Regions from separate parts of the Homo sapiens genome. Here all the other regions are linked to region 2. The links are contacts of gene promoters, found by promoter capture Hi-C in human tissues and cell types (Jung and others, 2019). All regions are on one chromosome and are shown on one strand. Each heading gives the region's core, a stretch centred on a gene start or on the middle of the fragment in contact. The rest is flanking DNA. Distances are from core to core; before and after follow the strand shown. Region 1 overlaps HNRNPM (heterogeneous nuclear ribonucleoprotein M). Region 2 holds the start of ELAVL1 (ELAV like RNA binding protein 1). Region 3 holds the start of CD320 (CD320 molecule). Region 4 holds the start of RAB11B (RAB11B, member RAS oncogene family).

Evidence for each region. Contacts are between HindIII fragments. The study calls those that stand out against the background at their distance.
Region 1: a contact is called between a fragment that was not itself captured here and the fragment with the promoter of ELAVL1 in region 2, in 4 of the 25 tissues and cell types used here (IMR-90 fibroblasts, adrenal gland, liver and 1 more).
Region 3: a contact is called between the fragment with the promoter of CD320 here and the fragment with the promoter of ELAVL1 in region 2, in 1 of the 25 tissues and cell types used here (dorsolateral prefrontal cortex).
Region 4: a contact is called between the fragment with the promoter of RAB11B here and the fragment with the promoter of ELAVL1 in region 2, in 1 of the 25 tissues and cell types used here (spleen).

What each region holds. Positions count from the first base shown.
Region 1 is chr19:8,469,748-8,473,017 of GRCh38, reverse strand. It overlaps HNRNPM (heterogeneous nuclear ribonucleoprotein M), which reads right to left. Exons shown (of 16, transcript NM_005968.5): 10 at 1,591-1,692. Among named protein-coding and RNA genes, the nearest start is that of HNRNPM, 26 kb to the right of the region's middle. The HindIII fragment of the contact is 4,970 bases long and covers 1-3,270 here.
Region 2 is chr19:8,004,354-8,007,366 of GRCh38, reverse strand. It overlaps ELAVL1 (ELAV like RNA binding protein 1), which reads left to right and starts at 1,726. Exons shown (of 6, transcript NM_001419.3): 1 at 1,726-1,872. It overlaps LOC105372266 (a long non-coding RNA gene), which reads right to left and starts at 1,554. Exons shown (of 4, transcript XR_936302.2): 1 at 1,409-1,554. RefSeq lists silencers at 1,351-1,840, 2,071-2,270, 2,301-2,350. The HindIII fragment of the contact is 8,326 bases long and covers 1-3,013 here.
Region 3 is chr19:8,307,108-8,310,155 of GRCh38, reverse strand. It overlaps CD320 (CD320 molecule), which reads left to right and starts at 1,798. Exons shown (of 5, transcript NM_016579.4): 1 at 1,798-2,007. The coding sequence starts at 1,866. It also overlaps a transcript of NDUFA7 not described here. RefSeq lists enhancers at 970-1,499, 1,555-2,294, 2,179-2,308, 2,295-3,035 and silencers at 1,696-2,034, 2,009-2,098. The HindIII fragment of the contact is 38,311 bases long and covers 1-3,048 here.
Region 4 is chr19:8,388,928-8,392,178 of GRCh38, reverse strand. RAB11B (RAB11B, member RAS oncogene family) reads right to left here and starts at 1,819. Exons shown (of 5, transcript NM_004218.4): 1 at 1,723-1,819. The coding sequence starts at 1,762. RAB11B-AS1 (RAB11B antisense RNA 1) reads left to right here and starts at 1,488. Exons shown (of 3, transcript NR_038237.1): 1 at 1,488-2,170. MIR4999 (microRNA 4999) reads left to right here and starts at 2,799; the gene lies at 2,799-2,889. RefSeq lists silencers at 1,427-1,686, 1,906-2,187 and an enhancer at 1,957-2,156. The HindIII fragment of the contact is 12,481 bases long and covers 1-3,251 here.

The DNA.
Region 1 (3,270 bases), core at 304-2,803, 470 kb before region 2:
CATAAGCCACCACACCAGGCCTCAAGTTAGGCAGTATTAAACATGAAATAGAATTATAAGACACATTCTATGGAACATAAACTTTTTAGAAAATTTTAGGGAACAGAAGTAGATTTTTTTTAAGAATCCCTGTTAAGGGTGGGCGTGGTGACTCACGCCTGTAATCCCAGCACTTCAGGAAGCCGAGGCGGGTGGATCACCTGAGGTCAGGAGTTCCAGCCCGGCCTGACCAACATGGTGAAACCCTGTCTCTACTAAATACAAAAAATTAGCTGGGTGTGGTGGCACATGCCTGTAATCCCAGCTACTTGGGAGGCTGAGGCAGGAGAATCACTTGAACCCAGGAGGCAGAGATTGAGTGCGGTAAGCTGAGATTGAGCCACTGCACTCCAGCCTGGGCAACAAGAGCAAAATTCCGTCTCAATAAATCAATCCCTGTTAAAGGTAAAATCTTCAAAATAAAAACCAGTTCCTAAAAACACCAAGACTTCCTCCCCAACCCCCAGTCTTTCTGTTTAGATGTCAGACATGGGGTGTGTGTGTTTTGGGTCGGGGGAAACGTTAACAGCCATTTGAAGTTGTGGCCCAGAATTTAAGTCAGCCCCAGGGTGACTCTGGAAGAGAGTCTAGGGATATGCAACACTGACAATGGTGGGATAGAGGGGCTTCCATATTCCAATTTCAAAGGATTCCAACAAAGACCAAAGTCTAAGGTCATAAAAATGACATATTCCTTAATAGAATCAAAATACATCATTACACAGCAATGAAAATGCTAAACAGCAAAGCCTGAGTTTATTCTACACATCAAAGCTTTCATGCAGGTTTTTTTTTTTTTTTTTTTTCTGGAGACGGACTCTCGCTCTGTTGCCAGGCTGAAGTGCAGTCATGTGATCTCAGCTCACTGCAACCTCCGCCTCCCGGGTTCAAGCAATTCTCCTGCCTCAGCCTCTTGAGTAACTGGGATTACAGGCGTGCGCCACCACGCCCGGCTAATTGTTTTATTTTTAGTAGAGATGGGGTTTCACCATGTTGGCCAGGATGGTCTCAAACTCCTGACCTTGTGATCCGCCCACCTCGGCCTCCCAAAGTGCTGGGATTACAGGCGTGAGCCACCGTGCCTGGCCTCTCCACCTTTTTTGCATCTATCAATGCCCCTAGCTCTCTAGCAGCAGCTGTGCAAACACCAGGAGGGCCCAAAGGGGTCTTGGTAAGACACTTTTCAGGGCACTGCGGCAGTGCTATGGTCCCGTGGTCAGGAGACCTGCAGCCTGTCAGTAACTGACAGTGTGACCTTGAGCAAGATCAACTCTCTGGCTTGCCTCCTCTTATCAAATGGCACAACTATTTCAGCTTAGAAGGTTGTTGTCAGGTTACAATGAAAAAGCATAATGACTTTTTAAAAAATGACTCAACTTGATAAAAATACAAAATACTGCCTTTATTCAAAATGAGGCAGAGATGAATAAGGAGGGAATTTTGTCCCAGTTAAATATTTATTCCATTTAAACTACTCAAAGTCCAGTTGTCCCAATAATTAATAATTTTCACTTCCCCAAACCACCAAGCAAGGTGCACTGTCATTCTCACCTGCGGGACCTATGTTTCCCATTCCGATGCCTTTATTCAGGTGATTGGCATCAATGGGTTGCCCTCCTGGTCCTAACCCCATGCCAATACCACCAAGGCCATCTGGAAAGAAAAGAGAAAGAAGCTTAGTTTTCCCCTATTTAGCAAACCTTGACCCTCAAAGGAAAAGAGTGTTTAGTGAGTTGCAGCTATCCACTTCAGCCTACCCACCCCCACCCACCAGTGACCTCAGGGCCCAATGCAAAATTCAACATCGGCACACTTGGAAACAGAGCCTTGTTCCGGCGTTTGGGATATGTGTGTATACAACAAAGGCGGCTGAAAACCAACACGGGAAAGTTAACAACCCCCACACTAAGATTCTTGAGAGCCTATTTGTTTCACTAACCCATGGACTGAGAACTGTCTGATCAAAAAAGGTGACTCAAGACATCAGGTGGCAAGCAGCACAAATGTGCCCAATCCCTAGTAGCCCAAAGGATGTTTCTCATGAAAAAACACGTTACAAACCAGCCAATCAACATCCTGGGTGTCCACTACTCTCTGAATCTGGGTGGTTTTAGTAACAATGAAGCTAATGTATGTATTCAAAGAACCTATCTTCCTTCCCCCAAAGCTTCCCAACCCACAACTGGATACCCAGCCCACACTCAACTCCATGCCCTACCAACACAGACAGGGACACAGAAATACAGGCTGGTCTCTGGAAACAGCCAAAAGAGCTGACACTTGCAATATCTGGGGTAACCACCATCTGAGGCTTAAACTACAACCAGGTAAGCTTTTAAAAATCGTAACAAGGGCAGGCGCAGTGGCTCACGCCTGAAATCCCAGCACTTTGGGAGGCCAAGGCGGGTGGATCACGTGAGGTCAGGAGTTCGAGACCATCCTGGCCAACATGGCAAAACCCCATCTCTACTAAAAAAAAAAAAAAATTAGCCTGGCATGGTGGCACATGCCTGTAATCGCTGCTACTTGGAAGGCTGACAGGAGAATCACTAGAACCCAGGAAATGGAGGTTGCAGCAAGCCAAGACCGCACCACTGCACTCCAGCCTGGGCGACAGAGCGAGACTCCATCAAAAAGAAAGAAAAAGGAAGAAAGGAAGGAAAGAAAGCAAACAAAGTTCATTTAAAAAGTAAATAAAACCTGCCACCACTTCCCAGGCGTTTCATCTGATGAACATTCCATCTTTAATTGCATAGCAACAGCAGCAAGAGATCGCCACGGTGACTTACTCTCCCAAAGCACTGAAGGCTTTGAAGTCAAGCCTCCGAAATGGCCGGGAGACCAAGAGCCATGGATAACAGGCTCCCTGGAGCAGTGTGCTCCTCCTCCTGCTCCAGCACAAGAGTCAACAAGAGCCATCGCCATGGTCCAGGGTGACCACTGCTCAGGTGAGCACACTGACAATTTATTTGGGAAATGAGTATGTTATGTCCAGGAAATGCAATCCTTCTCTAACTAATGTTGCCTTTCAACAGATGAGCCTTCTCATGAAGCCACAGATTTCCCTTCAAGATACATCTGTCATGCTGCCATAATGCTACGCTGCAAAGGTGCTCTGGCCTGGGCTCCCATCCAACTCAGTGAGTAGGGCCCTGAGCTTGAGCTGCTGCTCCAGACCAGGCCCCCTCAACCCGCCTGGTGGAGGTCACCCCAGCACAGCACACACAGGCC
Region 2 (3,013 bases), core at 477-2,976:
ATCTCTACTAAAACCACAAGAATTAGCTGGGTGTGATGTTGCACGCCTGTGATCCCAGCTACTTGGGAGGCTGAGGCACGAGAATCACTTGAATAGGGAGGCAGAGGTTGCAGTGAGCTGAGATCACACCACTGCATTCCAGCCTGCACAGCAGAGTGAGACCCTGTCTCCAAAAAAAAAAAAAAAAAAAAAAAAAACTTCTAAGAAAATATGATTAAAAAAAGAAACAGGCTGGGCACCGTGGCTCCCGCCTGTAATCCCAACACTTTGGGAGGCCAAAGCAGGAGGATCACTTAAGTCTAGAAGTTTGAGACCAGCCTAGGCAATACAGCAAGACCTCATCGCTACAAAAAAATAAAACATTAGCCAGGCATAGTGGCACATCCTGTAGTCTAAGCTACTCAGGAATCTGAAGCCGGAGGATTGATTGCCTGAGCTGGGGAAGTTGAGGCTGCAGTTAGCTGTGATCATACCACCGCACTCCAAATTGGGTGACAGAGTGAGATCCTGTCTCAAAAAAAAAAAAAAAAAAAGAAAAACAAAATTGTAGGCCAGGCGCAGTGGCTCAAGCCTGTAATCCCAGCACTTTGGGAGGCTGAGGCGGGCAGATCACGAGGTCAAGAGATACAGATCATCATGGCCAACACGGTGAAACCCCGTCTCTACTAAAAATACAAAAATTAGCTGGTTGTGGTGGCGCAGCGCCTGTAGGCCCAACTACTTAGGAGGCTGAGGCAGGAGAATCGCTTGAACCTGGGAAGCGGAGGTTGCAGTGAGCGGAGATCACGCCACTGCACTCCAGCCTGGCGACAGAGCGAGTCTCCGTCTCAAATAAATAAATAAATAAATAAAAATAAAAAGACTATTATTTTCAGATCATAAAAAAAAAAAAGAAAAAATTAGGCAGAGTGCAGGCATGCCTGTAATCCCAGCTCTTTGGGAGGCGGAGGCAGGAGAATCGCTTGAGTCCAGGAGTTCGAGACCAGCCTGGGCAACAGAACCAGAGCCCATCTTTACATAAAAAAAAATTAAACATGTAGCTTGCATGTATTTCTACTAGGGCATTCTAGGCCAGCGCTGGTTTAGAATGTTAGCCCAATAAGACCAGGTATTTTTTTTCTGCTCACTGCCCATACAGTGATTGACACACAGTAGGCGCTCAATGACATTTTAATGAATGAATGAGATGCTGAGCCTTCGGGAACTGGCTTGCTCAAAGAGCCAGCACCGATGAAGCGCTGACCACGTTCCATGCCCCGCCTCCTCAGCGCACCAGAGAAGGAAACTGAGGCCCGGCAAGGTGACGTCAGCTCCTGCCCAACGGCACGTAGTGCGGAAACGTCGGGGCCGGGATTCGAACCCAGGTTCTGTACCCGTAACCCCGGCGCGCTGACCTTTCCTACCTTACCGGGCGGCGGCAGGACAGACAGGTGCGGGACACACGGCGAGCGCTCAACCAGAGGCGCCGCTCCTCAGCCACCGCCTTCCGTCAGCCTCCGAGGGCCGGAACCCAGTTCGCCCCCTCCGCGGCCATCGCTGGCTGCCCGCGTCTCCGCCGGCCGCGGAGCACTTCGCAGGCGGCGCCGACCGGAAGTCCCGCCTCTCCCGCGCGCCCCGGAGCGCCGCGACAGCTACGCCGGCCAATGAGCAGCGCGCCGTGGCGGACGTCGGCCAATGGGCTCGCGCGCGGGGGGGGCGTGTCCGGGCCGCGGGCCGGAGCGGGTCGTGCGCGCTGAGGAGGAGCCGCTGCCGCCGTCGCCGTCGCCGCCACCGCCGCCACCGCTACCGAGGCCGAGCGGAGCCGTTAGCGCCGCGCCGCCGCCGCCTCCCGCCCGCCCCGGAGCAGCCCCGGGCCCGCCCGCCCGCATCCAGGTGAGGCGGTGGGGGGCCTTCGGCGGCGCCCGACGGGGTAGGCCGCGGCAGGCCTGAGCTCGCCTGGCCTGGCCGCGGGGCGCCCGCGGGCCTGCACCGGCCGAGGCCCAGGCCGCGCCGGACCGGGGGAGGGGACGCGCGCTGGGGCCGCGGCGGGCGGGTCGGGGCGGGCCGGTGTGGGCGCCGGCTACAGGCCCCGGGGCCGGATTCCTCTGGCGCCTCGAGGGACGGGCGAGGGGGATACGGCGTGGGCATGCGCCGGGGGGCCGGGCTGCACGGCCGGGGGCCCCGGTCGCCTTGGAAGCCCGGGCTCCGGGGGCGGGAGAGTGGGGCCAGCTACGGGGGAGCGCCGGGAACGCTTTGAGCGCGCAGAGGTCACGGCCCACGGGCTTGCTCCCCCGGGAAATCCCACAGATTCTTTTGTGGTCGTTGTCAGAGCACCGCGGCCGGTGCGAGGTCCTTTGAGAAGTGTGCAAACCCTTCAGTAGATACACGGGAGTCCTGGGGGAAAAAAAAAATCTAAACTGCATCTTTTTTTGAGCGCCATCTCTAACAAAGCTGTTTGTGGGGCGTGGGACGTTAGGATTTGTAAAATATGTGTGTGTGCCTGTTGGAAACACAAGCTGCACACAGTTGAACAATGGGGGATGGATGCCCTTCCTTCCTTTTCCGGTGCTCTGGGCTGCGGGGCTTGTTAAAATGGGTTTTGGTCCCTACTGTGTGCAGGGCAGGTGGAGAAGAACTTCTGCACAACTTCTGCATGGGCTTCCCGTGGTGGGACTGAGCCCCCTTGCTAGAAAGTGTTCATCTAAGATCCGGATGGCCAGAAATGGGAAGATGAGGAGAATGATCTGTCTAGAGCAGGGTTTCTCGACGTTGGCCCTACTGATGTTTGGGGTCAGATAGTTTTTGGTTGTGGTGGTAGTGGGGGCTTCCCTGTGCAATGTAGGAAGTTGAGCCGTATTCCTGGCCTCTACCCACTAGATGCCAGCAGTATCCCCATGCTCCAAGTCGTGAGGATCAAAAGTATCTCCAAACATTGCCAGATGGCTCGGGTTGCGGGGGAGGGGTCTCTTCCACTCTCACACGCACAGGTGAGAACCATTACTGAACTAAATGCTCTTCCTCCAAAAGTTCTAAT
Region 3 (3,048 bases), core at 549-3,048, 300 kb before region 2:
GCCTGGCCTAACTTCCATCTCTTGAGGGCTCCCACAGCCACTTCTCACATGAACCTTCCTCAGCACCTTCCCACTGAGGCTCCTGCTTGACCATGGTCACCCTGCAGCTCAACGGGGAAGGCAGAGGACAGTAAGGGCTGCTCACAGGGAAGGCAAACCTAGGGCAGATCAGGAAAGGCCTCCCTGAGCCAGATCCCATTATGCTGGGGCTGTGGGATAAGAATGAATTCGCCCCAGAAGGAAGGCAGCTGGTTCCTGGGGAGGAGACAGAAATCTGCAAAGGGAGGGTGTCCAAGTCTGGCTGCAGGAGCCACCCAGTGACCCTACGCAGGGGAGTGTCATGGCTTCCCCAGGGCACAGCCCCAGACCCTTCAGCAGCTAAAAAAGATCAGCTGTGGACCAAGAGGGTGCTGAGACCGCCCTGCCCTCTGGAAGGGGAAAGGCCACGGCTACAGGCAGCAGGTACCAGTGTCCCAGAGTGGGTCCTACAAAGGCTAACACCTTCCTGGAGAAGGTGGGATTCTGCTTGGGGCAAAAGGATGAATCAGATTCAGAAAGGTCAGGAGGGAAGGAAAGACTAGGCAGGGTGTGCAGAGGCCACAAGGAGGGCAAGACCCTAGGCAAGGCATGCCGCTGACGGCATCTGAACCAAGTTTTATGACCACAACTTTTTTTTTTTTTTGAGACAGAGTCTCACTCTGTCACCCAGGCTGGAGTTCAATGATGTGGTCTCGGCGCACTGCAACCTCCGCCTCCCGGGTTCAAGCGATTCTCCCATCTCAGCCTCCCTAGTAGCTGGGACTACAGGAGCATGTTACCACACCCGGCTAATTTTTGTATTTTTGGTAGAGACGGGAGTTTTACTATGTTGGCCAGGCTGGTTTAGAACTCCTGACCTCGTGATCCGCCTGCCTCGGCCTCCCAAAGTGCTGGGGTTAACAGGCGTGAGCCAGCGCGCCGGCCAACTTTTCTAACAAATGGGGTCTCACTGTCACCCACGCTGGAGTGCAGCCCCAAGTGATTCTCCCACCTCAGCCTCCTGAGTAGCTGGGACTACAAATTAGAGCCACCATGCCCAGCTAATTTTCTTTTTTCTTGAGGCGGGCGGGGACTTGCTGTGTTGCCCAGGCTGATCTCGAACTCCTGGGCTCAAGCGATCTGCCCGCCTCTGCTTCCCAAAATGCTGGGATCACACACGTGACCCACCGCGCCCGGCCTTTATTATTAAATTTAATTAATTAATTGATTTCCTTTCCTTTTTCCCCCCCAAGCAACCCGACTCCGAGAATGGACGTTTCATTTATTCATTTACTCACCAAATGTTTACTAAGAGCCTACTATGAGTCAAGCACTATGTGTCAGATCCTGAGAATAAAGCAGTGAGCAACAGAAGATCCCTGCCCTCCAGTAGCTAGCATTCTATGGGGACTCGGACAACAAACCAGAATAAGTAAATAAAATAAATTACCTGTCGGCGCCACAAAAGCAGTGGGATGAGGGAGGAAATGCGGAGTGCCTGAGGGGCGTGGCTGCCATATTAAAGAAGATCACGAGGCAGTAACATTTGCAGCAGTCCTCATTTGGAACGGGAAATAATGCAAATGAACACCAACAAATTCCTTCCCATCCCCAGAAGTTTCTAACTTCAAGCGGGCTCCATACCTTTCAACTGATCTGGTCACTGGGGAAAGTGGGGACGGGCCTCTAATTCTCTTTTCCCTGCTATTCTGACATTTACGGTACGCGTAGCCGCGGGCGCCGCAGAACTCAGGGGCTTGGGCCCCGCCCCAACCCCGCGCGTGCGCGTGCGCAGGGATAAGAGAGCGGTCTGGACAGCGCGTGGCCGGCGCCGCTGTGGGGACAGCATGAGCGGCGGTTGGATGGCGCAGGTTGGAGCGTGGCGAACAGGGGCTCTGGGCCTGGCGCTGCTGCTGCTGCTCGGCCTCGGACTAGGCCTGGAGGCCGCCGCGAGCCCGCTTTCCACCCCGACCTCTGCCCAGGCCGCAGGTGAGTGACGCCCCGCAGCGCGGGCTCCCACCCCTCGCGAGGCTTCGCCCCGCCGCCGCGCACCGACAACGCCTAGTCACTGGCTGCACCGCACGTCAGTTCATGACACTCCCCCAGCACGTGGACTTGGACTTCATCGCTTGTGGGAAGGCGCGCACTGGTGCTAGGAAGACCCCATGCTGGGGGAGGGGAGGAGGGTGTCTCCACCTGCCTTTAACGGTTTTGCTCCGGCCCTGCACACCGTCTCCACACCTGCTGTGCCCTGTCGTCCCCCATTGTCACCTCCAAGCCGCCCTTCATACCAGCGTGGTCAGGAAAGCTCTTAGCAGGCTCAGATTGTCCGACCGCTAATCACGCAGGACGGGTCACCTGGTGCCTCTCGCACCTTTGCCTTCCAAACCCTCGCGCCCAGGCCTTGTGACCGTTCCGCAACCGTCCCTGCCCTCCCAGTCTCTCCTCCTTTGTCCTCCATCCTTAGAGAACGCGAGGTCTCTCCCCCCCATGCTACTGCAGGCTCTCGCAGAGACTGGGGTCACAAGTTGAATATACCCCCGTGGACGTGTTCGCCCTGGCCTAAGAGGTATTGGTGGCCAGTGGGGACGGGCTCCCTCTCTGATACCCCTAGAGGCAGCTGGAGGGTTGGAGTGGCCTCCCTGTGCACTCAGGCACTCCCAACTTGCAGCCCTGGGCTCAGGCTCACACACTTTCCCAGCTCCTTTGTGCATTCCGCACTTCTAGGTCCCTGGACTCATCCCAAAGTCCCTGACATTCACGTTAAATGTTCCTGGGTTTTTTTTTGTTTGTTTTTTTTTAAGGAGGCAGCGTTCACGTTAACCAAGTACAAAAGTTTTTGTTTTTTTTTTTTTGAGTCTCCCTCTGTCGCCCTGGCTGGAGTGCAGTGCAATGTTGGCTCACTGCACCCTCCGCCTCCCGGGTTTAAGCAATTCTCATGCCTCAGCCTCCCGAGTAGCTTGGGACTACAGGCACCGTCACCATGCCCGGCTAATTTTTGTATTTTTAGTAGAGATGGGGTTTCACCAT
Region 4 (3,251 bases), core at 570-3,069, 380 kb before region 2:
CTGCCCTGGCAGTGCCACGTCTGGGTGGGTGCCCAGCCAGGACCTGGGAGCAGCTGCCTCACGGTGGGCTGAGTGGAGATGGCACCCGATCAGCAGGACCCAAAGTTTAGTCCCCCTGTCTCCAGACGGCCCCTTAGAATCCCAGTCTCCAAAACCCTTCCAAAGCTTCCTCCTGCCACGAGGGGCGAGACCTTGGGCCGGGCACCTGCTGACCACAGAGCCTCACCCACCAGTGACATTATCAACCTGTGTGCAGCTGCCAGAGCCCTCAGTGCCACAGGACGACTCTAGGCCCTTGTAGAGGCACTTCCTCTCCCTCCCCCCGGAAGGCTTTCGCCACACGGACAGCCCAGGTGGGGAGACCTCTGCCTCATTCCCCACAATCAGAAGACGCTGGATGAGACCAGACACAAGGCCCAGCTAGGCCTGGTGCAAGCCACAGAGCACACTCGGAGGAACGGCTCAGCGAGGTGAGGATACCAACAGCTGATGTGCGACGCAGGCCCTCATAGAGCAGGCCGCAGGGTGAAGGCACCTTGGATCCAGGGGTTAGCCCTCAAGGGCTGCCATTGTCAGCCAGGGAGCCCAGCAACCAGGGCAGACCACTAGGCCAAAGTGTAGCTGGGCACAGAAGGCTCAGCTGAGAAACAAGGGACTCCGGCTTCCTCCAGCTGTCCCTAAATGGGCAATGGCTGCCTGATCTACCTAGGCCTTATGTGATGCTCCTAGAGCCCCCTCAGTCCCTCGGGCGGGGAAGACCCTCCAGCAGGCTGGCTGGGGCCCCGGCCATCAGTGCGCACGTGTTGGAAGAAGTTGGTCCAACAACCCAAAGTCCCAGATGCTGGCCACAAGCCCCCTAAGACACGCTTCCTAAGTGGTAAGGCCTACAGGTGGCCTGGGCTCAATCGGGTTCCAACACTTATAAACTGTGTCTTTGTCACTCTGGGCCTCAGTTTCCCAACGTGTAAAAAGAGAGGCTGGTTAGTATCAACCTCAAAGGGCTGCAGTGAGGATTTTAGTTAATTCGGGTAAAGTGCTCAGAAAAGTGCAAGTACTGGCTTAGCACTGTTGAGAGTTCTGAGTGAAGAGATGGAATTCTTGCTGCACACACGGGTGCCTTTCCACTCAATCCCAGCTTTGCACCCCAATCCAAGGCTCCCACCACCACACACCTCACCCCCAGGCCCTCATCTCGGCCCAGCCCCCATTGCCTGCCCCGCCTCTCCCGGGCCCCACCCCCAAACACGCTGCCCCAATCAGGACAAGCCTCGTGAGAGCCCCGCCTCCGTTTGCCCAGGCCCAACCCACCTATTGGTCACGCCCATCACGCCTTAGCCCCGCCCCTAAAAACCCCGCCCCCATCCCGAATCACGCTTTCAGCCCAGCCCGGCCCGCCAAATCTTGGGAAAGCTCCACCCCCTGCGGAGGCCCCGCCCTAACAGCCTCTCCCACCGCTCCGGGCCCCACCCCCTCTAGGCTCTGGCCCCGCCCCGGCGCGTCCTAGGTCCCCCAGGTCTCTCCGGGCCTCCGGCTCCGTATAGCCGCGCATCCTAGCCCGAAGCTGATGCTGCCCGGTCGGCTCCGGCCTTCCCGGCTGCCTGACCCGCCGGGCCCCAAGCCCCGGGCTCCGGCCTGGGCCCAGCGGCCTGGAGCGCGGCCTTGGCCCGTCTGCCCGCCGCCTCGCCGCCACGACTTCGCCCGTCTGTGCCCCACCGGCCGCACCTTTGAATAGGTAGTCGTACTCGTCGTCCCGGGTCCCCATTGTCCTGGCGCTTCCGGCGGGATCGGCGACTCCGCAGCCCCACCACAAACACCCGACGGGGGCGGAGCCGGCGCCGCGCAGAGCGGCGGTTGAATGGCCTATCAGCGGCGAGTGGAGTAGCGACGGGCACCCAGCGAAGCCAATCAGAGATGGAAGTAGTGCTCTGAGGGTGGGCGCCGCTTGGTACCACCCTCCTCGCCCTCGGTGTCCTGGAGAAAGGCGGAAGGAATGCGGACCTTTTTGAAGTGACGGACGCGCCAGCCTATCAGGGGCGAGCTCAAGAGGGCGGGGCGGAAGACTGCAGGAATGAAATGGATTGACAGACCAAATAACTAATGAGAGGCTTGATTGAGAACCTACCCGACTATCAGAGGACCTGTCCGGGAAGAGAAATGGGGCTACGTCCAGGTAATGCTACGATGCTTAACGTCCCGATGACGTCATAGGTCAGCGCGCGCTGCCCTGGTCGCCCCCCAAGCCCATAAATGACCATTTCCGGGGACCTCAGCGCTGGGTCCCCTTTCTCGGTTGCAGTCTCCATCTCTATATTGGGACTCACTGGGTTATCCTTCTGTGCCTCAGTTTCCTCCTCTGTAAACTGAAGAAACCCGTCTCATGGAATCTTTTGAAAATAACCAGATCAGCCAGGCGCGGTGGCTCACGCCTGTAATTCCAGGACTTTGGGAGGCCGAGGCTGGCGGATCACGAGGTCAGGAGTTCGAGACCAGCCTGACCAACATGGTGAAACCCCGTTTCTACTAAAAATACAAAAATTAGTCGGGCGTGGTCGCTGGTGCCTGTAAACCCAGCTACTCAGGAGGTTGAGGCAGGAGAATCGCTTGAACCTGGGAGGTGGAGGTTGCAGTGAGCCGAGATTGCACCAAGTGTGAATCAACCGTCCACTTTCTGCTATTCTTTGTTAAATAAATACTTTTAAATCCTTACTGGATACCAATGCTCTCCAACAGGACCTCCTACCACTACCCCTCTTTTGTCCTATATTTTGCCACATAGGTAAAATATAAAAATAGGTAATATAGAAAATAAAACACATACTGCTGTATTGTCAGGTAGTGATAGGATTTATCACTACCTGACAATACAGTATGTGTTTGTTTTATATATTTAGGGTGTACAGCGTGTGTTTTGATACACATGTACCCAGTGAAATAATAATTATGACAGTTTTTTTTTTTTTTTTTGAGACGGAGTTTTGCTGTCGTTGCCCAGGCTGAAGTGCAATGGTGTGCTCTCGGCTCACTGCAGCCTCTGCCTCCCGGGTTCAAGCGATTCTCATGCCTCAGCCTCCCGAATAGCTGGGATTACAGGCATGCACCACCATGCTTGGCTAATTTTTTTGTATTTTTAGTAGAGACGGGGTTTCTCCATGTTGGTCAGGCTGATCTCGAACTCCTGACCTCAGGTGATTCGCCCACCTTGGCCTCCCAAAGTGCTGGGATTACAGGCATTTTCACCACACATGGCCAAT